Linked DNA regions of Homo sapiens: regions 1, 2, 3, 4, 5 and 6 are each linked to region 7. Evidence: promoter capture Hi-C in 16 types of primary human blood cells and fetal thymus (Javierre and others, 2016). All regions are on one chromosome and are shown on one strand. Each heading gives the region's core, a stretch centred on a gene start or on the middle of the fragment in contact. The rest is flanking DNA. Distances are from core to core; before and after follow the strand shown.

Evidence for each region. Contacts are between HindIII fragments. The CHiCAGO score rates a contact against its expected background, and 5 or more counts as called.
Region 1: a fragment that was not itself captured here is called in contact with the fragment with the promoter of IFT74 in region 7 in 4 of 17 cell types (monocytes, M0 macrophages, fetal thymus and 1 more); the score reaches 9.5 in monocytes.
Region 2: a contact is called between a fragment that was not itself captured here and the fragment with the promoter of IFT74 in region 7, in 4 of 17 cell types (fetal thymus, activated CD4 T cells, total B cells and 1 more). The highest score is 6.5, in fetal thymus.
Region 3: a fragment that was not itself captured here is called in contact with the fragment with the promoter of IFT74 in region 7 in 6 of 17 cell types (total B cells, monocytes, naive B cells and 3 more); the score reaches 9.9 in total B cells.
Region 4: a contact is called between a fragment that was not itself captured here and the fragment with the promoter of IFT74 in region 7, in 10 of 17 cell types (total CD4 T cells, non-activated CD4 T cells, total CD8 T cells and 7 more). The highest score is 20.6, in total CD4 T cells.
Region 5: a contact is called between a fragment that was not itself captured here and the fragment with the promoter of IFT74 in region 7, in 1 of 17 cell types (fetal thymus). The highest score is 5.8, in fetal thymus.
Region 6: a fragment that was not itself captured here is called in contact with the fragment with the promoter of IFT74 in region 7 in 1 of 17 cell types (fetal thymus); the score reaches 5.5 in fetal thymus.

What each region holds. Positions count from the first base shown.
Region 1 is chr9:27,700,467-27,704,414 of GRCh38, reverse strand. No RefSeq gene overlaps it. Among named protein-coding and RNA genes, the nearest start is that of C9orf72, 130 kb to the right of the region's middle. The HindIII fragment of the contact is 974 bases long and covers 1,978-2,951 here.
Region 2 is chr9:27,621,486-27,625,471 of GRCh38, reverse strand. No RefSeq gene overlaps it. Among named protein-coding and RNA genes, the nearest start is that of C9orf72, 50 kb to the right of the region's middle. The HindIII fragment of the contact is 703 bases long and covers 1,353-2,055 here.
Region 3 is chr9:27,599,146-27,603,340 of GRCh38, reverse strand. No RefSeq gene overlaps it. Among named protein-coding and RNA genes, the nearest start is that of C9orf72, 28 kb to the right of the region's middle. The HindIII fragment of the contact is 620 bases long and covers 1,404-2,023 here.
Region 4 is chr9:27,577,561-27,581,196 of GRCh38, reverse strand. No RefSeq gene overlaps it. Among named protein-coding and RNA genes, the nearest start is that of C9orf72, 5.9 kb to the right of the region's middle. The HindIII fragment of the contact is 6,143 bases long and covers 1-3,636 here.
Region 5 is chr9:27,650,261-27,654,163 of GRCh38, reverse strand. No RefSeq gene overlaps it. Among named protein-coding and RNA genes, the nearest start is that of C9orf72, 79 kb to the right of the region's middle. The HindIII fragment of the contact is 1,362 bases long and covers 1,002-2,363 here.
Region 6 is chr9:27,667,716-27,671,419 of GRCh38, reverse strand. It overlaps LOC105376002 (a long non-coding RNA gene), which reads right to left. Exons shown (of 3, transcript XR_007061441.1): 2 at 2,298-2,399. Among named protein-coding and RNA genes, the nearest start is that of C9orf72, 96 kb to the right of the region's middle. The HindIII fragment of the contact is 1,618 bases long and covers 1,608-3,225 here.
Region 7 is chr9:26,954,712-26,958,544 of GRCh38, reverse strand. It overlaps IFT74 (intraflagellar transport 74), which reads right to left and starts at 2,133. Exons shown (of 20, transcript NM_025103.4): 1 at 2,029-2,133. IFT74-AS1 (IFT74 antisense RNA 1) reads left to right here and starts at 2,238. Exons shown (of 2, transcript NR_121605.1): 1 at 2,238-2,418; 2 at 2,530-2,765. RefSeq lists a silencer at 560-854 and enhancers at 1,451-2,185, 2,186-2,921. The HindIII fragment of the contact is 1,304 bases long and covers 1,309-2,612 here.

The sequences.
Region 1 (3,948 bases), core at 1,215-3,714, 750 kb before region 7:
GGAATAAGATGAGATATATTTTGTTCTGATATATTATGCTAAGAAGTGTCTTACTTGCAGGCAAACTATTGTAAGTTGCCTCAATATTCACCGTATTATACATTTCACATTGTTCTGCCTATATTATTAAAGCTTGGTCTCTTGGAAAATATTATAAGGGAATTTAACTATACATAAATATTGATAGGTGCAATAAAATAAGAACAGCATAAAAGTATTTCAGCACTAAAAGTTAAATGTGTTGGAGCCTAAGGAGAATCCTTTACTCTTTTGGTATTTGCAAATGACTTTAAACTCACATAAGATGATGAAATGATAAAAATGAAAATAACAAAATGCAAAAAAATTATTACAATATATTTCAAAAAGGAGTTAGTGGCTTAGAAAGACCCAAAATGACAAAGAAAAGTATAACATTCTAGAGTTGAAACAAGTCACCACAAGTGCTCAAATACTGTTCTCCACCACAAGGTAATGACATTTTTACTAACATTCAGACAAATATAATAATCTCAAACTATTTTAAGATTGAGAGAAGGTTATGAGAAAGAGTTACCGAAGCCAATATATATCAAACTTGGGGCTGACATTTGGTCTCAAATCCCCAGTGTTTGCAAGAATTTCAGCACAGGTGGTAAGTACAATCACCATATGTTCAAACTGGAGACATCTGCAGAATCAGAACCAAGAGACTGTCAACTTAAATGCATGTTCTTTTGGGGTAGAAAATTAGTTATTTTAAGATATAGTGAGAATATATGATTTAGCTTAATCTCAATTCACTTGAAGATCTGAGGATTAACCCAATCTGTCAAGTAGAGTTCTAATCACTGAGGTTCTTTTCTAAAACCATTCCAAAAAGGATCTGTACAATTTGGATGAGGGATTATGGTTTAAAATATAATTTAATTAAAAAGAGAGGTTTAGTAATCCTTTAATCTCTCTGATCTTCAGTTTCCTTTTTAATGAATTGAGGAAGTGGAAGTTGGGTTATATCTCTATAACAAGTCTACAGTTATCTAAAAACCGTGAGAAGCCAGATAGAACATAATCCTTCTAGGACAGTTTTCACATCCAATTGTAAATGAATACATTGGTTTCCAAGGCAAAATCTCAGCCCCCTTGCCCAATTTGTTACAGGAAACTCTCTGCTACAAGAGCAAGCAGCAAAGCCTGTCAAATTAACTTTCAGAAATGTCCAGTTTTTATTATCACCTCCTGAAATCCACCCTTTATACCGTGCCAGAACAATCCTGGTTGTAGCATACTTTTGGAGGTGGCTGCCCACTCATGACCCTCCTTGTCTTCATTTTACTCTTCCCTCGTCACAGTTGATCCAAGTTGGGTTAATGAGATTCTGTTTTCCTGGAATCTGGAATTAGTATTAATAGTTCCAAGGCATTCTCTGTTGGTTGTTTGATATAAAATCTACAGGTTGGATAGCTACACAAGTGTCCATCTTCTGCTATATGCACAAAGAAGCAAAAACAAACAAACAAATAAATAAATAAATACAAAAACTAAGTCAATCTCCAGAAAGAGAATAGGCAACAGATACCGAGAGAGAGAGAGGGTGACAAAGAGAGAGCGAACAAACCAACACCTTGGTTCCTGATGACTGCCGATTGCAGGAACTTGTTGAGACCCCATGTCCAATAAGATACCTCTATATCCTTATAATATATTCCCTTGGCTAACAAACAGAAACTTCAAGCCCACCACTAGAAATGCAGAGGCAACAGCCTCTTACTTTAAAAAAATATTAGATTTTTTTATTAAAAAATCTTAGATGTTTTTTAAACAGCTCCCATAATTGTGAAATATCTAATCCTTATAATAAATGTTTATTCTGTATAACTTACAGTTATTCTGCTTCCCTGAGAAACAACAACTGATATAGGAAAGATCTGCAATTAGGACCACCTGTTTCCTGTACTTTCTAGCCATGTAACCTCAGAAAAGTCACTTCTCTAAGCTTCAGTTTCATCATCTACAAAATGGGAATAATCATTCCCATCTTATAGAGGTCTTTGAAGGTTAGATATACTGAGGGATGTGTTGAAAGAGAACACACATGTAAAATGCTTAATTTGTAACATTGTAAATACCTTTATCACCATCCCTATCCCTACTATTCAACTAAGCATGTATTATAAATCTATTATTATGTTACAAGTTGCACTTATTAATGAGAAGTTTTAACTGCTGGTCTATTCTTCTAGAAGGTACATTAGAAAATAGAACTTACGTACTTTATCTTAAATCAGAGTCGACTATATACTGGCAAGAAGTGATACAACATCCCAACATAGCATCTTTTTAATGCTTGAATTGTCCTCTTTTTAGAGAGTTAATATCTTGACGGTAATTATGCTATGCTGTGACTTCCAACATATGCTTTATTTTTTTGCTAGTTCTTCCTTAATTTTTCACTTATCGGTACTGCACTGTGACATCTGAACCCAAGGAAGCCAATGCAATAATAACAAAAAGTGCTGCTATGACACTCTTGAGTCTAAAGCAACCTCAGCAAGTGCAGCATTTGGAGAGTTCAGCCAAAGGACAACGCACAACCCAGGAAATGTGCTAATCGGTGGTTAAGACTCCGATGTCTCTACCAGCTGGAGCAGTGGTCTTTAGACATTGCTTCCGAGGGAGTCAATAACATGGGATGTGTTAGTTTTAGTGCAGTGAAGCAGCTTTTGTATAGCCCCTTTTTTAAGGACACATAACTCTGTCATGGCTGCAACTCCACGGACAATGTCCTCTCTTTTTAAGCTCATGAATTTCACTTTCCTAACCTGACAAAACGGTGTGTGTTAGATGACACATGGATGTGGAATTATTACACAGGAACCATCGGAGAGACAAAACTGTCTGCTCTTATTAGATTTGATGACTAGGCAACACACACACTACTGATCTAGAAAAGCTATGAGAAAAAGAAAGCTTTAAATTGGGTTAGGGGACTTGAAGCATAATCTGAGATGCCAGTTGCTTCAAAAATGAAATTGTGCCAATGTCCCCTCCAAGAGAAGAAGGAGGCTAGGTGCCTAAAACGCAGAGACACCCCGTGGCATCATATCTAAAGGCCATGCAGTAAACAGAAATCCAGTGTGAAGAGAAAAGTTCAGAACAGAGTGAAGAGGACAAAAAGAGTGAAGCCTGCACTTCCCTGAGAGGAAGTGCCCCCACCCATGACAAAGCCATCAAGCCACTTCAGACACATTCCAGATAGAGGAACACAGTATGCTGCTGCTGTGAAGACAAGAGGAAAGAAATTGGGAATCTTTTGTATCCCATTTAACAAACATTTCCTGGGAACTTATTAAGTGTCGAGCACTATATTCAGTCTTGTTGGAACCAATATGACTAAGACTTCCATATAGAAATGTGTCTCCAAGGGATCTAAAGTAAGGGTCAAAGTTTTGCCCAAAGAAGGAACTTGAAATCTGTCTTGGCAAGAAGTAAGTTATGATTCTAGAGAGTTGTGCCATGTAATATAAAAGGGCCAATTGATTTGAAAGCAAAAAGGGAATGTTTTATACATACGTCATTTCTATCATAAGAACTCAGTCTGGCCTTTTCAGATTGCTGACTTTAAGCAGACCATGTCCCTAATGATCACTAATGCTGATTGATACTCTGGTTGTGAGTTTGTGTCTCTGCAACTCACGTCAGCCAGTTCACATCACTGATTAAGCTCTCTCTGGGTCTCAACCACGTGGGGCCCCCATGAGCAGTCAGCTTTGTCTGCCTTCCCCCTCAACTTTGCTCCACTGAGACATGGATCCAGGGTTGATCTGTGTGACCTTAAGCGGACTAGAACTGTTTCAGAACACCCTCAGAAAACACTTTTGTATTGCAAGTGCAGATGAAATGGGAACAGAGCAGAGCAGCATGGTTAGGGGCTAAAGCATTCCTCTGCAATCTATGACAAAATCCTTA
Region 2 (3,986 bases), core at 455-2,954, 670 kb before region 7:
AGCTTGATAATATTATCAAATATTAGATAAATGTAATATTAGAAGAAAACTTTTTTGAAAAGATATATAAAAATAATTTCATTCAAAATTTTTATATTTAATTTAAATTTTTAATGAAAATATATCTAAGTTTTGTACGCTTTAAATGTAATTATGTTTGATAATTTAATCATTTACTATTCGTTCTCTATTGCTGCCCTAACAAATTACCATAGTTCAGTGGCTTACAAAACACAAATTTATTATCTTACCATTCTGTGAGTCAAAATTCCAAAATAGGTGTCACTAGGCTAAAATGAAGGACTGCATTTCTTCCTGCAGGCTCCAGGAGAGATCTATGTCTTACTCTTTTCGGCTTCTAAAGGCTGCCCACATTCCTCGACTAGTGGCGTCCCTCCTTCGTCTCTAAACCCAGCAACAACAGGTTGAGTCCTCATGTCACATCTTTCTTACCTTTCTGTCATCTCATCTCGCTGACTGCTGCTGGGAAAAATTCTCCACTTTTAAGGGCTATCATGATTAGACTATGCCCACTAGATAATACAAGATCTCAGATCCTTAACTTCCATCACATCTGCAAAGTCGCTTTTGCCTCATAAAAGAGTCTGAGGTTTAGACGGGAGATCTTAAGGGGGCTATTAATATGCCTACCATAATCACTGAGAATAAGTACAAGTTAAGATTATAATAGCAATAGAATATACAAACGTGAAGCTCCAAAAGAACAACAACAACAAAAAAGGTGAACAGGAAAAAGAAACTGAAAATCTTTAAAAAGGCAGTCTGTTTAAATCTATAAAAACTGGAAAAAAATGAGAGTGGACAAATATCTGGTAAGCATGATGGACTTAAAATTTGTGACTAGGGCATTACATTTTTTATATTAATATAATGAAGATTGAATTACTGATCAAAACAATTAAAAAGCAAGAGAACTATTCTCATCAAATCTGCAACACGAAAAGTTCAGACAAAATTCCAACAACTTCACATTCTGAACTAAATGAGGACTAATTACCAGTTCGAGCAATGAGAATATATGAGGTCCTCCGTTTGCACTTTGCCAGGGATCTGAAAACGTTGGGAGTAGGTCGGCTTCACCCTGAAGCCAGACCATCGACAGCCAGTTTTCCCTCCCTTCTCCACCCACAGGTCTTAGGCCCTCATCCTTCCCAGCCTCAGAACTAGTCTCCAAAGAAGAGGAAAGTTAGAGGAGAGAGTAAATCGTTGAATAGGATGAAGGAGATGTGGGAAAAAGAAAAAGAGAGGCTGCAAGAGAGAGGGTCCCAGGGATAACTCTGCTCTTGGAAGGGTGGCCACAGTCATGTGGTCCCAAGAGGCAACAACAAGCTTAGGAAGCCAGAGAAACCAGTTACAATCACTGCTACTCTTTTCGATTCTGTGTTGTTTAAGAAATATCACCCGCCAGGAGTTCTCCAGAAACATTTTCCCTGATTCCATGTAAGTGCTCAACCAGTGAATGGTAATCCCATTTTGGTTTAGTCTGTACCATCCCCTATTCCAAAATAAAGGGAAAAATGGTGGGTTTATATCTTAAATTTTCTACTTTACTAAACTCAAGGGAAATAGCCAAGCAAAAACGAAAGCTGAGACTCTTGCTAATTATCCTTTCCATAGAATGTTTGCTAAAATTCCTTGTCAAGGAAGGAATAACAAAGCTAGTCCACGCTCTGTATAGGGTGTTTCCAATTAGTTATACTTTAAAGTATAAGTATTTAACAAAATCTATAAATTTTGTTAATTATTTACTTGTAGTGAAAAATGAGCCATTCTCAAGCAAATCACTTTTTATTACACATTCCAGAGAATAACCATAAAAGGACATTTATTATAGCAAAAATAACCACATCTGGATGGAACTTCAATCACCAGTATTTACTAAATAAATGCCCAGAAAAAAAATAGTTCATCTTTAATTTCAGTCATCATTAATAAAAGCTGAAGTACCTCTTCAGATCTTTTGATCATTTTCTGTTGGATTGTTTTCTTTTTACTGAGTTGCAAATGCTCTTTATATATTTTGGATACAAAGCTTTATCACATAGGCATTTTGCAAGTATTTTTTCCAAGTTTTTTTATCTTTTCATTTATTTAATAATATCTTTCAAAGAACGGGAATTTTATAATTTTTATGAAGTCCATTTATAATTTTTTCTTTTATGGGTTGGTGGGGGTTGGGGGTTGTGTTGTCCTAAGAAATCTTGGCTCAACACAAAAAGATTAGTTTCTATATTTTCTTCTAGAAGTTTTATAGTACGATCTCAGATCCATTTCAGATGATGAATAAGCACATAAAAAAAGGATACTCATCGTTAGTCATTAGAGAAATGCATATTAAAACCATAAGGAAATACTACTATATACATATATTAGATAGGATGAAGAGCAACTGGAATCTCATACAGTGCTGATTGAAATGCAAAATGGCAAAACAACTTTAGAAACCAATTTGGAAGCAGCTGTACTGACATGGAATTTTGAGCTGGAAGAATCTTAGAAAAAGAATACTTTACCACCTCCCCCATTCTCTTCACCCTGGGGAACTGTTAAATGAGGAAATTGTGGTTCAAGGAGGAACTTGTCTATATGCTTTCTCAGCTTTCCCGTGGTAATTACCATCTTGATAATATAACGTAATGTATGTATATGTTATCAAATAATATAATATCTTCATCATATATTTATCATCTTCATAATGTTAGCTGTCTAGTGGTAACTTTTTTTTGCTCTTTATTGCCTCCCTCTTTTTTCCCTCTTTGTTGTTTTTTGTCATACAATTATGATATATGTGTATATATTCTCACTGTAAAGATGTAAACAACACAAAGATTATTGAACAAATCACGAAAGTAACCCTTCCTTCATTCTTACCCTATCCAACCCTCATCTCCTCAGAAGAATACACCATTTTAGTTGTAAATGTTTTTCTAGCTCTTTTTCAATGTTTCTACCTATATGCATGTATGTATAATGTATATACATACATATATACATACATATTGATATATACATATATAGAGGTATGGTTTTTTAACTTAAATGGAATTGCATTGTGGATATTGTCCTATGACTTGCTTTCAACCAAATTATATGTCTTGGAAATACATACATATATTTAAAAAATATGTTATGTATATGTAACATACTATATGTGCATAATATATATTACATAGATATAATAAGGCCTAGGAAGAAATTGTGTGCAACCTCTAGTACATCTTCCTCTATATCTACTGTACATACATACAACCCATTCTTTTTTTAATTTTTTTATTTTTTTAGACAGAATCTTGCTCTGTCGCCCAGGCTGGAGTGCAGTGGCACAATCTCGGCTCACTGCAAGCTCCACCTCCTGGGTTCACGCCATTCTCCTGCCTCAGCCTCCCAAGTAGCTGGGAATACAGGCACCTGCCATCAGGCCCAGCTAATTTTTTTTTGTATTTTTAGTACAGATGGGGTTTCACCGTGTTAGCCAGGATGGTCTCCATCTCCTGACCTCGTGATCCGCCCACCTCATCCTCCCAAAGTGCTGGGATTTACAGGCGTGAGCCACCGCGCCCAGCCACAACTCATTGCAGAGTAGTCCAAAATATGGATGGACTGTAGCTTAATTACTTATTCTCCCATTGATAGACACTTAGGACTTTTCTAATTTTTATAATTTAAAAATATGCTGCAATTAACAAACATTCTTGTGTATCTTTTTGCTGTATGTATGCATATTTCTTTAGTATGGGTTTTGGAAGAGGAATCACAAAGGAGGCATAGAATATAAATATTTTTATTTTGAAAAATACAGTTGTAATTTAATAACCCACCAAAAGACTCTAACAGTTTAGATTCACATCAACAGTGTAAGAACATGTCTGTTTTACTGCATCCTTACCCCCACTGGTTATAATACTTTTAATTAACAATCTTATGGATGAAGAATACTATCGCAATGTTGTTTTAATGCATTTTTC
Region 3 (4,195 bases), core at 464-2,963, 650 kb before region 7:
CAGGGGGCGGGGTCTGTGTGTCTTGTTCCAATGGCTATCTCAGATAGTCACCCATCTGGAGGTCTAGTTGGTATTATTTTGAATTCAGCCCAGTGGTGGTGGACTGTCAGTGACTCCTCGCTAAGCAGGAGGATTCTGCACTCAGGGCTCCATGCATGGTTTGTTTCAAGATTGGCCTCTGGAATTTCTCAAGCAAGAACATAATTAAATAAGCAGGCATTGCCAGAGGGGAGTGTCTGGAAAGGAAAGGAATGAAGAGATGAAAGGAAAGTGGGTGGTTAAACTATATTTTTAAAACTGAGGTTCCCAGTTATAGTATGTTTCGCACGCTCCCCCCATTTTAGCACCCCTGACAGAATTTAGTAATCTCCTCATCTTGTCCTCTACTTCAGGTCCCCTATCTGTCCTTGTACTCTCCAGGGTTTCCTTTTCTTCTTCACGACCTTCCTTCCCTGCAATTTTATAAGCTATTCCTATCCCAGTGATTTAGTTTCAGCTTATAAAACTGTGTCTTTGCCATTGTAATCAAATTGAAGGGCCTCTGCTTCATGGTTGGATTCTGTGACCAGGAGACTCTTACGAGGAGTTGGCCAGGTCTCTGTTAGGAAAGCAAAAAAGAACAATGGAGGCAATTATCCCATTGATTTCAGCTATAAATCCTATTTTGCCTGAATTGTCTGAACGATGAGTATTCTGTGAAAATGCTGCTCTCTAGTGCAATAGAACTGCAAATAATGCACATCTATTTCTTATAATCTCATCCAACATACCCACAGAGATTCAGATCTAACAAAACAGAGGTGATTTGGTTATTGAATCATAATATAAATATGGGGAAGAGGAGGGAAATTTCAAGCCTGAGGAAACTGTAGTAGGAGTAAGTATGCTGTGTTTAAGAGGTCACAGATAAAATTAATATTACCAATCCATCAATAGGCAATTACTAATAGCTTACTACACACACAGGAATAAAATGTGAAGACAGAGGAAGTGTAAAATGGAGCCGCCAACTCTACGGAGTTGTTTGCAATTTGGTCTGGTAGAAAGCTATGAAATAAGGAAGTACATGATTGAGAGCTAGAGAATGTGGCACAGGCTCTGAACCCGGACCGTTCAATGTAGTAAGCTCTAGCCACACTGGACACTTGCAATGTGGCTTGTCCAAACTGACATGTGCTTTAAGTATAAAATATAATCCAGATTTCTAAGACTTCAAAAAAAATGGAAATATCTCATTAATAATCTTAAGTTTATTACAGGTAGAAATGATAGATTAAATAAACTATATTGTCAAAATTCATTTGATCTGTTTCTACAGTATAACAAACTTACTTGTGTGGTTTGCATTTTATTTCTACTGGATAACATGGCTTTAAAAATGGTATTTTAGAGGAAGGAAAGCTTGGTAGAGAATGGACTAATCCGGATCCCTGGAAGAAATGGACCTTGAATGGGTCTTGATGACTTGGAGAGGCAGAGAGAGAAAAAGAAAAGTCAAACATAGGGAATTGGTTGATAAAATGAAGGTGAGGGGAGAAGGAACAGAGGGAGGAGAAGATCCAGTTTGAGGGATATTACAGCGAGCAGCCTGAGAAAGAAGGATAAGAAAGGAGAGAAAAAATGCAAGGGAAGTAACCCTTCAAAGCCAGTCAGAAGTTTCTGGGTTCCTCAGCAGCCAGAAAAGAAGCCGTTGAAAAGATCTGAGTAACGGAGATTCTGGACGAAAACTGAAGTTATGGAAGGGAAGTTTAGACATGGGTTATTAAACGCTTTAGCGCATTAGAAGTTTCTTATGTAATCACTAAATTCAGATCCTGAAATAATGCCACAAGAACTATACAGCTCAGCCACCCAATTCAATAAGAAGTTACAGCACAGTCTCACACATATCCAATTAACCTTGGCCTTTAGTCAACATCTGGGTTCTTTTTGTCATTTTCAAATACTATCACCCAGAGGTGCTATGATTTATATTGGGGAGGGGATTAAAAGAAAATAAGTAAGTTGGTGATAAGAAAAAGCTTTCAGATGATTCCATCTGAATTAACAGCCCTCTTTAGTTGTCTAGGAAAGAGGATGCTTTTTCTTGAAAGTGCTTTGAAATGATGATGTGCTTGTTAGTAAACATCAATTATTTTCAAATCGTAATGTTTGCAAGTTTGTCTTCCTGTAGCTCACCCTTTATGTAGGTCCAGAATATGATTGTCACAAATATCTGGGTGAGCAAGACTATGAAATGTGGTCATAAAGTAAGTGATTATTTCTAAACTCATCTTTGTCACTCGTAGTGCTTCACAAAGCACCTTTTCCTGGACTACAATTCATTTTAATTGATCCCATCAGCACTATATCTGTATCCTGAGTGACTTCACAATACCCTCTATTTCAAGAGAAACCAATCAGGTTATGGGTTTGTTAGTAATAAAAATTACCAAGGAGCAGTTTGTGGATGGTAAAAGCAATGCAAATTCTAAAGAGAAGTCATAAGAGCAATAATAAGCATCCTCCTCACTTCTTGGAAGTGAACAATTCCAAGCTCCCTGAAGCAACACTTAACCTATCATATTAAACAGTAATGGACAAATATTAGAAATGTTGATGTCAGCTTTCAGAATCTGTGGGCATCAAAACATCACTTAAGTTCTCCGAAGTATTCTCTGTCAAGTTTCCTTCTACAGTATTCTTTTCCTACTAGGACAGAGCCTTAAGCCCTAGAAGAATAATTTTGCTTGTGTGTTAATTATTTGTTTACTGGTTCATTCCAGAGTGTGAGCTGGAAAAAGGGGGAAGTGTCATAAATAGTTTTTTATGGCCCATGGTTTTTCAACTACGTCACTATTGGTAGCAGTTTCCACTGCAGGATCTATTTGCAAAGCCTAGGAAATTAGCATTAAGCAAGCTGCTAGGAAGACTTCAACAGTAACTAGGCCACAGGCCTCACACATTTTTCCTCCACCCCAGCCTCCTCTGGAGAGTACTTGCTAAACCTCTGTGACACATAATGAAGCAAAGAAAGTGATAGAACAACAGAATTACACGGGCAGATCCTTGTTTCTTCTTCTCTCTCTAAAGAATTCCTTGGACTGAAAAGCAGTTTATTTTGGAGGAGTGAGAAAGTGGTGACAGAATTAGAAGGGCCTGGGAGGGCTTCATTTTAGGAGACAGTTTTAGGCTGAAAAGAGATTTCATGAGTGTGATTTACCTGAGGTGACTTTTGGGGGCTCTTATAAAAAGGAAGTTCATGCTGAATGGGAGGTGGCTTCTGAGATGCAGATTCTGGTGAGCTAAGAGGGCTCGGTAAAGAGGAGGCAGGAGTTAAGTAGCGTGAACTATGCAGTAGCAGCCTTCTTCCCCCCTTGCTTGGGGCAGGTCATCACAACCCTTCTCAATAAAGGGGTCCAGGAACCACTAGGAATAAATGGGCATTTGCACTTCAGGTGAAACCCATTTGTCATAACTGCTTGGACTTTAAGCTTACAAATAAAAAGAACCACATATTTCCCTTTGCAGCTTGATTTAGTTAATGTCATTTTGAGAAAGAAAGAAGACATTGTTATCCCGTCCCTTTTTTTTTTTTTTTTTTTTTTTTATGAAGAGACTGGGACTCAGAGAAGTCAAGTGATTTTCCCAGAACCAGAAAACACAGAAGTAGCAGAGCTGAGATGACTACTCCGGTCTTCTGATTCCAAATTCCAAATTCATTCTTCTAAGCGATTTCCCAAAACGGGAAATGGGTTTATCTTCTATTTATGGGAAGTGATAGTGGTATTCTATTTAGAGAACTTATATAAAATCTTACTTTAAAATAAATAATATTTCAAAAAGTAAGCTTAATTTAAAGAAAATAATCAAGAAAGTCTGGTATATTTTTACAAATATACCAAATGACCTTGCTCTAAAATACATCTACTTTCCAGCAAGCCAAAGTGAAACAATTTGAAATAAGTGGCATTTACTGACCACTCCCTAAAGTTCACACAAAAGAGGTAGTACTCTAACTTAAATATACAAGGTGAAGAAATAGCTTACTCAGCCTGTTGGGCTTCCTCTTCTACACTCTTGGGAAATGCCCTCCGTGTTAACCAAGAATTCTCAGGCCTTGGAGGGAGTTTTCCATTCTCAGTAAACTGAGATTGCAGTTGCGGAAATTAAGAGGTATCTGTCCAGCACTTCATTCCCTTAAGGTCAGGATCTG
Region 4 (3,636 bases), core at 165-2,664, 620 kb before region 7:
GGCACGGTGGCTCACACCTGTAATCTCAGCACTTCGGGAGGCCAAGGAGGGCAGATCACCTGAGGTTGGGAGTTTGAGACCAGCCTGATCAACATGGAGAAATCCCATCTCTACTAAAAATACAAAATTAGCGGGGCATGGTGGTGCATGCCTATAATCCCAGCTACTCAGGAGGCTGAGGCAGGAGAATCACTTGAACCCAGGAGGTGGAGGTTGAGATCGTGCCATTGCACTCCAGCCTGGACAACAAGAGTGAAACTCTGTCTCAAAAAAGAAAAAAAGAAAAAGAAATTAAATGCACTATGGTTTATGGAGCGGTATTCCTCCTCCATGTCCTACATAAGATCTTTCACATGCCAGTCACAGTTAAATCTAATTTGCTGTAATCTGGATAAATGGGAGCTAATCAACAAGCTCTCAGCTCTAGCTCTGAATCAGCAGCAGATATTGCATTTTTGAAATACACTAATAGCAAGAATGCCTTCCTGACAACAACTGGCATTTTTGACACAGCAGGAAGTTTATCTGGATTCTGATATAATAGTTATTGGAATCATACATAGGTACATAGTTTAAAAGGCTAATAAGTCATTTGTTATTGCTTTTATTATCTCTGCATAGTTAGTAAAATTGAGATTAGAACCACTTCTCGAATGTACTGTTCTAAATCCTTAGCTTGCTTGATCACACATGACCCTCACAATGATCCTAGGAGAAATTATTCTGCATGCCATTTTGTAGCTGGGGAAACTGAGGCACAGAGAAATACAGTACTGCCCAAAATGTCATAACTAATCAAAGGCAAAGACAATACTCACACCAGCTCTGATTCCAGAGCCCACTCTCTTAACCATATGCTTTTCTGCTTCCCTAGTTGTAGAGTCTTTTTGTATGACTGCATTAATTATATGTGAAGAGTTCAAAAATTTCTATATAAGGTCTTTTAAGGGTGTCATTCTGGTTGAAAATGGAGGACTAGGCTTCTCACTTGAAGACATATTTCTGTAGAAAAACCTATTTTCATTTAGATGCTACAGTTACTTGATGTGGTTAATAAACCAGTTAACAGAGTATGAAAAGGATAAGGGTTAAAGCCCTCCCAAGCCATCTTTCATGCTGCTAATATGAATCACATTACTAGATACTTAAATATCATTTTCTCTTTGGTTCCCAGAAGACTGCATATATGCTAGAATATTTGTCCTCCTCTTTTACCCTTTCAGGCAATAAAGTATTTTGGACCACTGTACTATGTTATAATTATTGTTTCTCTCCTGATTTTTTTGCTCCAATCTAATGAAAGACATACAAGCTACTATACTGCTACACAATGACTAAATACCTGTTGGATTAGGTGGGGGGAAGATACACAGTCACTGGCTAGAAAGCATCATGCATACAGAGCCATTTTCACCATATATTTTATTTCTCATGATCATGTAGAATTTAGGCTTTGGTGTTGATTATTTCTCTCTTAGGAAACATAGTTGTTTCAGGGTTGATATCACAAAAAAACAGAAAAACCTATTCGAGAAAAGGAAAATTATTTGTCTGTAGGCCAAATTTTGAAGTAGGAAAACCTGCTTTTGGAGTTGTATTCCCCTCCCAGGCACTTAATCCAAGTTCCAGTCTTATTCTAAACTGGGGATGCTAGTATTAACCACCATAGGAGTTATCTGAGATGAGTTATCATCAACTTGGTACCAGGTTGTTGTCCTCTGGACTCAGTGAGCTCTAGAATTGCATGAAACTGGCCTAATTTATCAAAGTATGTAGCCTTGGGTAAATAATTCAAGCTCTCAGAGGTCCAGTTATCTCCTCTGTAAAACATATCTACATCCTAGGGATGACAATATCTACATCCTAGAGATGTCAGGAGGATTAAGTGTAATTTTTTTTAATTGTATGTATTTAAAATGGGCAACATAATGTTTTGATATACACGTGTATAGTGATTACTACAGTCAAGCAAATTAACATATCCATCATTTCATAGCTACCTTTTATGTATGTGATAAGATTATCTAAAATCTATTCTCTTACCAAATTTCCAGTATACAATATTGATATGGTTTGATCCATATCCCCATCCAAATCTCATGTTCAGTTGCAATCCCCAACGTTGGAGATGGAGCCTGGTTGGAGGTGATTGGATCACAGGGGTGGCTTCTAATGGTTCAGCACCATCCTTTCTTGGTACTGTATAGTGAGTAAGTTCTCACGAGATCTGGTTGTTTAAAAGTGTGTAACACCTCCCCCACTTTCCCTCTCTCTGTTCCTCCTGCTCCCGCTATGTGAAGTGCCAGCTCCCTCTTTGCCTTCCGCCATGATTGTAAGTTCTCTGAGGCATCCCCAGAAGCTGATGCTGCCATGCTTCCTATACAGCCTGCAGAACCATGAGTCAATTAAACCTCTTTTCTTTGTAAATTACCCAGTCTCAAGTATTTCTTTATAGCAATGCAAGAATGGACTAATACAGAAAATTGTTACTGAGAAGAAGGGCATTGCTATAAAGATACCTGAAAATGTAGAAGTGACTTTGGAACCGGCTAACAGGCAGAAGTTGAAACATTTTAGAGGGCTCAGAAGAAGACAGAAAGATGAGAGAAAGTTTGGAACTCGCTAGGAACTTGTTGAGTGGTTGTAACCAAAATACTGATAGTGATATAGACAGTGAAGTCCAGGCTGAGGAGGTCTCAGATGGAAATGAGAAATTTATTGGGAATGAGTAAAGGTCAGGTTTGCTATGCTTTAGCAAAGAGCTTAGCTGCATTGTTCCTCTGTTCTAGGGATCTGTGAAATCTTAGACTTAAGAATGATGATTTAGGGTATCTGGCAGAAGAAATTTCTAAGCAGCAGAGTGTTCAAGAAGTAACCTAGCTGCTTCTAATAGCCTATGCTCATAGGCATGAGCACAGAAATGACCTGAAATTGGAACTTACACTTAAAAGGGAAGCAGAGCATAAAAGTTTGTAAATTTTGCAGCCTGGCCATGTGGTAGTAAAGAAAAGCTCGTTCTCAGGAGAGGAAGTCAAGCAGGCTGCATAAATTTGCATAACTAAAAGGAAGGCAAGGGCTGATAACCAAAACAATGGGGAGAAAGACTCATAGGACTAACAGGCATTTTATTTTATTTTATTTTTATTTTATTATTATTATACTTTAAGTTTTAGGGTACATGTGCACAATGTGCAGGTTAGTTGCATATGTATACATGTGCCATGCTGGTGTGCTGCACCCATTAACTCGTCATTTAGCATTAGGTATATCTCCTAATGCTATCCCTCCCCCCTCCCCCACCCCACAACAGTCCCCAGAGTGTGATGTTCCCCTTCCTGTGTCCATGTGTTCTCATTGTTCAATTCCCACCTATGAGTGAGAACATGTGGTGTTTGGTTTTTTGACCTTGCAATAGTTTACTGAGAATGACGATTTCCAATTTCATCCATGTCCCTACAAAGGACATGAACTCATCATTTTTTATGGCTGCATAGTATTCCATGGTGTATATGTGCCACATTTTCTTAATCCAGTCTATCACTGTTGGACATTTGGGTTGGTTCCAAGTCTTTGCTATTGTGAATAGTGCCACAATAAACATAGTGTGCATGTGTCTTTATAGCAGCAGGATTTATA
Region 5 (3,903 bases), core at 433-2,932, 700 kb before region 7:
GGTGATGGGGGAGATGACTACAAAGAGGCATGAGGCAATTTCTTGGGGTCATGGAAAGGTCTTGATTGAGATAGTGTTCCCATAGTCATATACATTTGCAGAATGTCATCAAAATGAACCTTTTAAATAGGTACATTTTACTGCACGTTAATTATACATTAAAGTCGACTTAAAAGCAAAACATCCTAAAGCTGGGCCTTTCCCAATTCTTATTACTGTAAAGACATAATTGACTTTAAGTGACATTGTTATTTACATAAATGTTAAAAATATTTTTATTTAACATAGATTCTTCATGCAGATACATTAATTTTCTTAGTCATAATTTAATGGAATTTAATAATTCATGATATTCATATGTCAGAGTGGTACAGTCATGTGTTACTTAATGATGGGGATACATTCTGAAAAATGTGTTATAGGTGATTTCATATTTGTGTAAACATCGTAGAGTGAACTTACATAAACCTAGAGGGTATAGCCTGCTACATACCTAGGCTATAGCATAGCCTATTGCTCCTAGACTACAAACTGGTACAGCATGTTACTGTACTGAATACTGCAGGCAGTTAAAATGATGAAAAGTATTTGTGTATCTAAACCTATTTAACATAGAAAAGGTACAATAAAAGTACTGGTATAAAAGATTTAAAATGGTACGCCTGTTCAGGGCACTTACCATAAATTAAGCTTGCAGGACTGTAAGTTACTCTGGGTGAGTCAGTGAGTGAGTGGTGAGTGAATGTGAAAGCCTAGAACTTTACTACACACTACTGTGGACTTTATAAACACTGTACACTTAGGCTACATTAAATTTATAAAAAGCTACTTTCTTCCTTCAATAATTAATTAGTCTTAGCTTGCTGTAACTTTTTAAATTTATAAGTTTGTTAGTTTTTTAACTTTTTGACTCATTTGTGATAACACTTAGCTTGAAACACAAACACATTGCACAACTATACAAAAATGTTTTCTTTCTTTATAGCCTTATTCTATAAGCTTTCTTCTGTTTTTATTTTTTTTTACTTGTTAAGCATTTTTGTTTAAAAAATAAGATACAAACACATTACCCTGGGCCTACACAGGTTCAAGATCATCAATATTACTGTCTTCCACATCCACATCTTGTCCCACTGGAAAGTCTGAAGTGCAGTAACATACATGGGGCTGTCACCTCCTATTATAACAATGCCTTCTTCTGGAATACTTTTTGAAGGACCTGCCTGTGGCTGTTTTATTGTTAACTTTATTTTTATAAGTAGAATGAGTACACTCTAAGGTGACAATAAAAAGTACAGTGTAGTAAATACATAAACCAGTAACATAGTCATTTATTATCATTATCAAGTATTATGTACTGTGCATAATTTTATGTACTATACTGTTATATGACTGACAGCACAATAGGCTTGTTTACACCAGCATCACCACAAACACATGGGTAATGTATTGCACTATGAGGTTAAGACAGCTATGATGTCAGCAGGAATTCTTCTGCTCCATTATTATAATCTACGAGTATTATAATCTACGAGACCAACATCACATGTGCAGTCTGTCATTGACCAAAACATTATTACAGAGCTCATGACTGTCTTAGGAAAACATGTACTAACCATCCGCATCTTTGTTTTTTTTTTTAAGAGTTGGGAGTCTCACTATGTTGCCCAGGCTGGTCTTGAACACCTGGCCTCAAGCAATCCCCCGGTTTCAACCTCCCAAAGCATTGGGATTAAAGGCATGAGCCACTGCACCTGGCCGTATCCTCATCTTTATAGAACAAAAAGTCCATCATTCTTACATAGTACTCAGGCAAGAAGGATAAAAGTTTGGTTGACTTTAAAGAGAAAATAAGATATAACTCACTAGTCATTTTTCTTCTCTAAAATAAGCATTTTTGTATGTGTACATGTACTTTAGAGTACATTTTGTTTATGATTAACTTCTCCAGGTGCTAAGTCTAGTTATCCCTATTTGAAAACACCAAGTCATTTTCAAAAAGTAAAGAACTTCTGTCCCTGTAAGCTATATCAGGCCATCCCCTCTACCTGACAAAATCACTGATGTACCTACTGGTGGAAGCAATTCCATCTTCCATCAGGAGACTATTTCCTGACTTCCAGGAAACCTCCAAGAAACTGTCATTGCCCTGTGGCTATGATAAATTAGTCTGATTATCACATGAAGGAGACAGGTGTTAACTTTGGATCCCCAACCCCACCCACCCACTCATGCCACCTAGAACATCGATGAATCCACTAAGACAAAAATGCCCCAAAGTGGCTCCAGTGAAAGAAGCTCTAGGAACAACAACAAAAAAAAGATTTATAGCAAATAAGCTGCATTCTTCCAGGTCAAAAGCTTTGGGACTTGTTGTCTATTCTGACGGACATTTTCTACCCTTCTTATAATCTCATATGGCAGAACATTTTTTTAAGTTTTTTTCTTTTTTTTTTTAAATTTTACTTTAAGTTTCAGGACACATGTGCAGAATATGCAGGTTTGTTACACAGGTATACATGTGTCATGGTAGTTTGCTGCGCCTATTGACTCATCCTCTAATTTCCTTCCCCTCACCCCACAACACCCAACTGGCCCTGGTGTGTGTTGTTCCCCTCCTTGTGTCCACATGTTCTCATTGTAAGACTCCCACTTATAAGTGAGAACATGTGGTGCTTGGTCTTCTGTTCCTGTGTTAGTTTGGTGAGGATGATGGCTTCCAGCTTCATGCATGTCGCTGCAAAAGACATGATCTTGTTCATTTTTATGGCTGCATAGTAATCCATGGTGTATATGTACCATATTTTCTTTATGCAGTCTATCATTGATGGGCATTTGGGTTGGTTCCATTACTTTGCTATTGTAAATAGTGCTGCAATAAATATATGTGTGCATGTGTCTTTATAGTTGAATGATTTACATTCCTTTGGGTATGCACTCGGTAATGAAATTGCTGGGTCAAATGGTATTTCTGGTTCTGGATCCTTGAGGAATCACCACACTGTCTTCCACAATGGTTGAACTAATTTACATTCCCACCAACAGTATAAAAGCACTCCTATTTCTCCACAGCCTTGCCAGCACCTGTTGTTTCTTGACTTGTTAATAATCACCATTCTGAGTGGCATGAGATGGTATCTCATTGTGGTTTTGATTTGCATTTCTTTAATGATCAGTGATGTTGAGCTTTTTTTCATGTGTTTGTGGGCCCCATAAATGTCTTCTTTTGAGAAGTGTCTGTTTATATCCTTTGTCCACTTTTTGATGGGGTTGTTTGTTTTTTCTTGTAAATTTGTTTAAGTTCCTTGTAAATTCTTGATATTAGACCTTTGTCAGATAGGTAAATTGCAAAAATGTTCTCCCATTCTGTAGGTTGCCTGTTCACTCTGATGCTAGTTTCTTTTGCTGTGCAGAAGCTCTTTAGTTTAATAGGATCCCATTTGTCAATTTTGGCTTTTGTTGCAATTTCTTTTGGCATTTTTGTCATGAATTCTTTGCCTATGCCTATGTCCTGAATGGCATTGCCTAGGTTTTCTTGTAGGGTTTTTATGGTTTTGGTTTTTACATTTAAGTCTTTAATCCATCTTGAGTCAATTTTTGTATAAGGTGTAAAGAAGGGGTCCAGTTTCAGTTTTCTGCAGCTGGCTAGTCAATTTTCCCAGCACCATTTATTGAATAGGAGATCGTTTCCCCATCTTGAGTCAATTTTTATATAAGATGTAAAGAAGGGGTCCTGTTTCAGTTTTCTGCGTACAGCTAGTCGGTTTTCCCAGCACCATTTATTAAATAGGGAATCCTTTCTGCATTGCTTGTTTTTGTCAGGTTTGTTGAAAATCAGATGGTTTTAGATGTGTGGTGTTATTTCTGAGGTCTCTGTTCTGCTCCATTGGTCTATATATCTGT
Region 6 (3,704 bases), core at 1,167-3,666, 710 kb before region 7:
GGAAAAAAATGGTAACCAATTTAAGACTGCTTTTAAAAACAAAAAGAAGGCATAGCATCAAGGGGAAAATGTATTGGAGGGAATAAGTGGGTGTTGGACACATATGAGCTTATAGATTGAACATCCCTGGACTTCAAGCATTTTGCCCCCTCAGTGCAGAGCCAGCTACTACCCACCTGTTTTTTTTCAGTACAGAAATAATTGTGCTTACCTGTCTCTGGCCTAATAATTATAGCAGAGACTGATTTTATTCTCAGCATGTTTATTGTGGTCGGATTTTCTCAGTTTTCAGGGCAAAGGCCTTACTAAGGATGCTAGCATTATTTGCTTTAACATCAAGCTAGTGACAAGGCTATGCAACGTTTTGTAAAAAGCCAAGAGGCCAGTGTGAATCCAGCCCAGGGGGCTTGTAATCTGTGTTTGACATGCAAATATTAGAAAACCTTGGCAAGACTACAAGGTTTACATGCAAGGGAAGAAAGAAAATACATGAGGCCAATACATTTGAGAATGCTAATATATTTCTCTACAGTTTTCTCAAAAGGAGGAAAATAGGAGAGGGTTATTTTTCCTAAAATCCAAATTATAAGGCAAAAGGTGACCAATTATGACTACTTAGCTTTAATTTTCATGTACTGAGGAGTGTGTGTGTGAGTGTGTGCATGTGTGCATGCATGCCTACATACATTGCATGCATGTTTTGAATGAGTGTGCGTAGATGGAAATAAAATAAACTTGGGATAGTGAAGAGGTCTACCTATGTAAAAATTTTTGCATGATGAATTGAACATTTCTATATTCAGAAATAAACCCTGCCACACGAAACCTAAAAAATTACTACCCCGACTTAATGCAATCTATAAAGTACAGTTATAGAACATTCTAAAATTACCTGCTTATACCTCATGACCTGGCAGAATAATTATAGGCTAGATTCTTTCATCTTTTTTACACTCTTTTTATTGAGAATTAAGAGATTCACTGTATTGGGTTATTAAAAGCCTGACCTCTTATAGCATGCATTCTTATCCCATTATTAAGCTGTGTATATAAAATTCAGTAGGCCTTCACTTTTATAGCTTTAACTTCTAAATTTCAAATTCAAAATCAGCATTGAAGTGCCAGTTGGGTGCCAGGCACTATGCAAGTGCTTTTAAAGGTACTGCCACATTTGATCGACACCCAGATTCCTGGCCAGGAATATTCTGATTCCAATCTAGTAAGCATCCTACGACACCACAACCTTCTATCATTGCCTTGCCATCAAGTCTTGCAAGGATTTTAGACAGAGAATTGGAGGGGAGGAAATCAGCAAAGCCAGATCCATGTCTGGTACACCACTGGCTTTTTACTAGAAGTGTACGCCTTTATTCTTTGGAGACTCCAATTTCTCTTAACATAAAACTGAAGCAAGAATACAGAATTCTTGATCAACTCACAAAAACATTATCAAGCGTCTTAAGTACATTCACCCCTCTGAGGTTTCCTCGATGTTCAAGGTTTGAATAAACCATGTAACCTAAATAAACCATCAAATAAATGGTGTATCCTTGAACAACAGATAAGCTTTTTATTTTTAGATGGGGTCCCTCTGTGTTGCCTAAGCTTGTCTCAAACTCCTGGCTTCAAGCAATCCCCCACTGTCCGCCTTGCTGGGATTAAGGGCATGAGCCATGGCACCCAGCTGAGATGAGTTTTAACAACTAGTTATTTTAACAACGTTGCAATTGCTCAAAATCTTGTGTTGGGGAGAGGAGCAGTCCAGGGCACAGGGAGTCCTCTTTGGAATTGCCATCATCCCGAGAATGCATTCTTAACATCCTCAAATGTTCATTCTTTAAGGGATGGAAAATTTTTATCCTTTGGAAGCACATTTGAAACATCCAGAAGTTATTCAGAGCCAAGGGTGATAAAGTGAGGGATCAAATGGAATATGACTTTCTATAAATATAAGAGGTGACTATAAAGTAAAGTAACTCATTATCTTGAATAACTTGTAAGCTAGCATTGAAGACAATCGCAAAAGAAAATTCCAGAATATTTTGGGTATCTGTACTCAAGATATTTTAGGTAACTGCACACACCAATTCACAAAGTTACTTCTTCACAATAGTTAGATAGCTAAAACAGAGAGGAAAATATAAGAATACATTTCTTCTGTTAAGTAGGTAAGAAAACTGATTGGAAAGGTAAGCCATTGGCCTGGGCCATGTGTGTGTTTGCATATGTGTGTGCATGCCACACACAAATGGGAACTGCCCTCGTTCGACCATCATTTTGAAAGTTCTGCTACTTACCTCGTCTAATTATCTGAGCACCTGAATCTTGAGCATAGCTGTCATACCTCCTTAGAGCATGTTTATATCTTCGCATTCTGGGAGGGATGTAATTTTCTTGACCTGAAAAAAAAAAAAAAAAAAAGGAGTGATGTCACAAGCTCTGCTTTTAATTACAACTATGTACTCTCCAAAAGAGTAAAGCATGATTACATATACAAGGATACCTTGTTTTATTGTGCTTTATTTACTGCACTTTGTGAATACTGCATTTTTAATAAGTTGATGTTTGTGGCAACTCTGCATCCAGAAATTCTATTCAGGGACATTTTTTCGACATCATGTGCTCACTTCATGTCTCTGTGTCACATTTTGTCAATTCTAGCAATATTTCAAACTATTTAATTATTATTATACCTATTACTGTGATCTGTGATCAGTGATCTTTGATGTTATTATTGTAACTGTTTTGGGACACCACAAACCCCACCCATATAAAAGGATACATTTAATCAATAAATATTGTGTTTGTTCTGACTGTTCCACCAACCAAACATTCCCTGACTCTCTCCCACTCCTCAGGCCTTCTTATTTCCTGAGAAACAACAATGTTGAAACTAGGTCAATTAGTAACCCTACAATGACTTTGTCTTCAAGTGAAAGTAAGAGTTGCATGTCTCTCACTTGAAATCAAAGGTTAGAAATGAGTAAGTTGATTTGGGAAGACATGTCAAAAGCCAAGATAGGCTGAAAGCTAGACCTCTTGTGCCAGTTAGCCAAGTTGTGAATACAAGGGAAAAGTTCTTGAAGGAAGTTAAAAATGCTACTCCAGTGAACACACAAATGATTTTTTAAAAAATGCAAAACAGTCTTATTTCTGATATGGAGAAAGTTTGAGTGGTCTGGATAGAAGGTCAATCCAGCCACAACATTCCCTTAAGCCAAAGCTTAATCCAGAGCAACGCCCTAACTCTCTTCAATGCTATGAAGTCTGAGAGAGGTGAGGAAGCTGCAAAAGAAGAGTTTGAAGCTAGCAAAGGTTGGCTCATATGATTTAGGGAAAGAAGACATCTCTATAACAAAAAAAAATGAAGGTGAAGGAGCAGGTGCTGATGTAGAAGCTGCAGGAAGTTATCTAGAAGATCTAGCTAAGATAGCTGATGAAGGAAGCTACACTAAACAACAGATTTTCAGGATAGATGAAATTTCAGTATAGATGAAATAGCCTTACATTGGAAGAAGATACCATCTAGGACTTTCATAGCTAAAGAGGGGAAGTCGATGCTTGGCTTCAAAGCTTTAAGGGACAGGTTGACTCTCTTGTTAGGGCCTAATGCAGCTGGTAACTTTAGGTTAAAGCCAGTGTTCATTGATTATTCTGAAAATGCTAGGGCCCTTAAGAATTATGCTAAATCTTGAGCCAGGTGG
Region 7 (3,833 bases), core at 884-3,383:
GAGTTTGTTTTGTTTAGTTCTACTGATTTTGTTCCTAAGTGTTTAACAGGTACTTTACTCTCTATTCCTACAGCACTGGCCAATTCAGGGCATCACTGACTCAGGTGGACTATTATACCAGCCTCTTAAGTGGTCCCCTTGCCTAACACACATTTTGCCTATTACTTTCTCTGGGAATCCTTCCATGACCAGTCCATAACTGGTCTTGGAATCTTCGTCTTCTTCAATTTCAGTGTATAGGCCTGTTCTACATGCTACCATGCATCCTGTGTATTACTTTATTCCAGAACCTATCACACCACTTGAAATGATCTGCTTAAGTATTTCTCACCCTTTATGGCAAGAGCTGAATCTTAATCATCTTTATATCCCCAAAATCTGTCTCAGTGATAAGCAAAAACTTTGTTCTCTCTTGTATCTTTTAAATTTCCTCGTACATAAAGGTATTGCCAATTACAAAAATTTACTAAATTGTTAAAAAGCAAACAAAGCGACCGGGAGCGGTGGCTCACGCCTGTAATCCCAGAACTTTGGGAGGCCGAGGCGGGTGGATCACGAGATCAGGAGATGGAGACCATCCTGGCTAACATAGTGAAACCCTATCTCTACTAAAAATACAAAAAAAAAATTATCCGGGCGTGGTGGCGGGCGTAGTCCCAGGAGGCGGAGCTTGCAGTGAGCCGAGATCGCGCCACTGCACTCCAGCCTGGGCGACTGAGCAAGACTCCGTCTCAAAAAAAAAAAAGGCAAACAAAGCGTGTGTTGGACTAAAATGATTTCTCTGTTTCTACACTCTATGTCCAGTACTACTTTTCTGACTTTTCTTAGCATTACTCGTAATCAGTCCTTGGACTGCTTCTATCCTTTCTACAGTCATGCATCTTTATAACTCCAACTATGTGTACGGCTCACTAATCAATGTCTACAGTTCTGCCCTTTCAACTGGGCACCAATTTTGAGTTTTCAATTGTTTATCTGAAATTTCCATTCAGATATCTCATTTGAATATGTTCACATCAATCTTCCTGACCCCACTAGCTCCCTGATTCTAATTCCTTGCCATTTTGAACTCTATGTACAAAGCAAAAGAATTTCAAATGGAAAAAGGAATTTCATGAAATGACTCTTTGAAAAGGAAGACGGTGTATGATCAAAATGGTTTTTCCAGAAGAAAACGAGTACAATAAACATCTCTTTCCAGTGGAAAAGATATTACTCTAGGTTTCCTGCTAACTTTGAGAAAATGTACAACATAAAAAATTTCACCCAATTTTCTTTGCCACCGTTTTACTGTGGTGAAAAAAAGCTTACCATTATATTATTACCAGTGGGATTAAGAGGCGGGCATTAGCAACAAATATACCACTAACTTCGGGGTTATTCAATCAAAGAGTCACACAATTTCCAATTATTCACACAGAGAGGCAGCCTGGCCTTTGGATCCAGAATGATTAGCGATACAAACTAGTGCTGACAAAGTTAGCGGCTGCATAATCTTGCCACCTTAATTAACCCCTCAGGATTTCATCTTCTGTAAAACAGAAGGGTGACATCTACCTTGCAGGGCTGTTGTGAAGACGATAAGTATTACATTTAAAACATCTGCTTCTAATTATTATTACTATCGTTATCCTCCCTAAGCCAACCATTCTCACACAGGTGAATAAGTGGAAAGTTGCTAACTGCCCGCACTGTGATCAACAGACAGAAATAAGTCCCTTCCACTGTAAGAGGCAGAAATGTATTGCTTTGACTAAAATCCTTCAGCCCATCGCGGTCCTTCCCTCTGCTCTGTGCTTGGCGGGTCTCCTGCGGGGGGTCGGGGAGGGGTCGGGCTGTTGGAGGAGGTCTGTTCGCAACCTTCGCTCGACTAGAATTGGTACATGCCTGGCCTGGCTACAGGCCCGACGGTAACAGTTAGCTAAGACCGAGTTTGAATTTGTTTTGTTTGGAGCGGATCAGCATCTCCAAGGCAAGAGAACAGACGTGGGAGGGAGGGAGGAAGAGATGGGACCCGGGGATTCTCACCTCCGCCGGCGCGGAAGGAGGGCAGTTGCCCGGCTCGCGGGTGCCTTAACTTCTTTCTGAGGCCCACGCTCAGTTTTCCTCGGCTCTCAGGCCTACCCACTAACTGCCGTGCGCCGCGGCGTATCCCGGCAACGGGGGCGGGATAGCGGAGGCTCCTCATCCTGAGTGACCAATCCTCCGCCTCAGCCCTTGGTTACACACGGAGCTCTCGCGAGAATTGAGGATATGTTTGTTTCTTCACCACGCTTCAGTGCTTTTTGGAAAAAGTGGAAAACAGCGGGGCGGCTGGAAGACAAACATTTTATGTGAACGTTTGGTTTTCTTGATAATCAGAGCAACCTCCGTGTGCCTTACTTGAAGTAACTCTAGCGAGTTTTGCTATGTCCCTAGGTAACCTCACGTCGGCTAACGTTGTTAACAGGTTACATTTGAAGTTAAGTGGTAGGCAGCATTGTGCAATTTTCTAAACTCCTAATTTGTGGTAGTTTTCCTTCCTATTAGGACGGCATAGCGTACACAACGCATCATGAAGTATGGATGCGATTCTGGCACCAACTGTTCCGTTCCTGCTTTCACCAGAAGCTTTGCGTCTTTAAGCTTCCTTTCATTAGAATTTGGATCCAAGTTTGTGGGGAAGACTGTGAATTCAATGGAAAGTGTCCTTTTTTTTTTTTTTTTTAATTTAAGAACTACTTCACCTTAAATCCCACTTCTCTAATAAAATAACTTTTACTGTATGTTTCCTTCCAATCTTCATTGATAACAGCTTAAATGTGATTGCATATGTATTGGGATTTTAACATTATTTTACACATTATTTCCAACTTGCCTGCCTTCGAGGAGTTAAAAATCAATACAACACAAAATGAGATAATGTTATGTGGCTGAATTCTCCCTTAGTTTGTGAAACATTTTCATGTAATTATCTCATTTGAGCTCACCCTATTTGCAGTGGCCATTTGTCATCCTTTTGGCAGAGTTTCTCCCTTACCCTGCCCCCCAACACCCTTACAGGAACTGAAAGTGACAGATACTGGCTTTCCTAGTCTTCCTTATTACTGGGACATGAGTATTATTGCTTGCTAGACTCTCCAATCTAATTTGGTGGACTCAACTCAAACTTGAATGACAACCAGAAGCAGGACTTCAGAGAGTCTGTTGAAGTAAGGGTGACAGCCGCAGTAACTACATCGTTTCCGAGACTGCAATGTTCTATCACCAGCAACCAGTGTCCAGCATCAGTGTGTTGTTGCAAGCTGCAGTGTTAGGTACTCAGAGGCTTTATTGGGAGGAGAACCTCTAGCTTGTTTCTTCAGCTTCTGGGAGAGTCTGTGAGCTGCTTAATGTCCTTTAATAAATTCATTTTCAGCTTTTATATCATTTATAGATGATTTCTGTTCCTTGCACTTAAGGACCCTGACAGATATTAACAGTTGAAATTGGCAGGACAGATACTATTATCCAAGTTTTAAAGAGATTAAATAATTTGCTTAAGCTCATTTAGGTAGTAAGTATTGATCCCTGTCCCCATTTCTTTTTCATGATGAAAAAGGAATAGAGAATAGGAATACATCTCACTTATTTGCCTCTGAGCTTCCTTAGAGTAGGCACCATATCTTATTTGACTTTGGATCATTATGTATTAGGTTCTGTTGCTTTTAAGGTTATATCAAATTGGAATTAGGTTATATCAAGTTGTAATTTGGTTAGTAATTAGGTTATGTCAAATTTTAAGTTTATTGTAAGACTACTTGTGTTTCAAGTTCCTTTCTGTCTCTAGTCCTTTTCACTGCAATTCTCTCTTC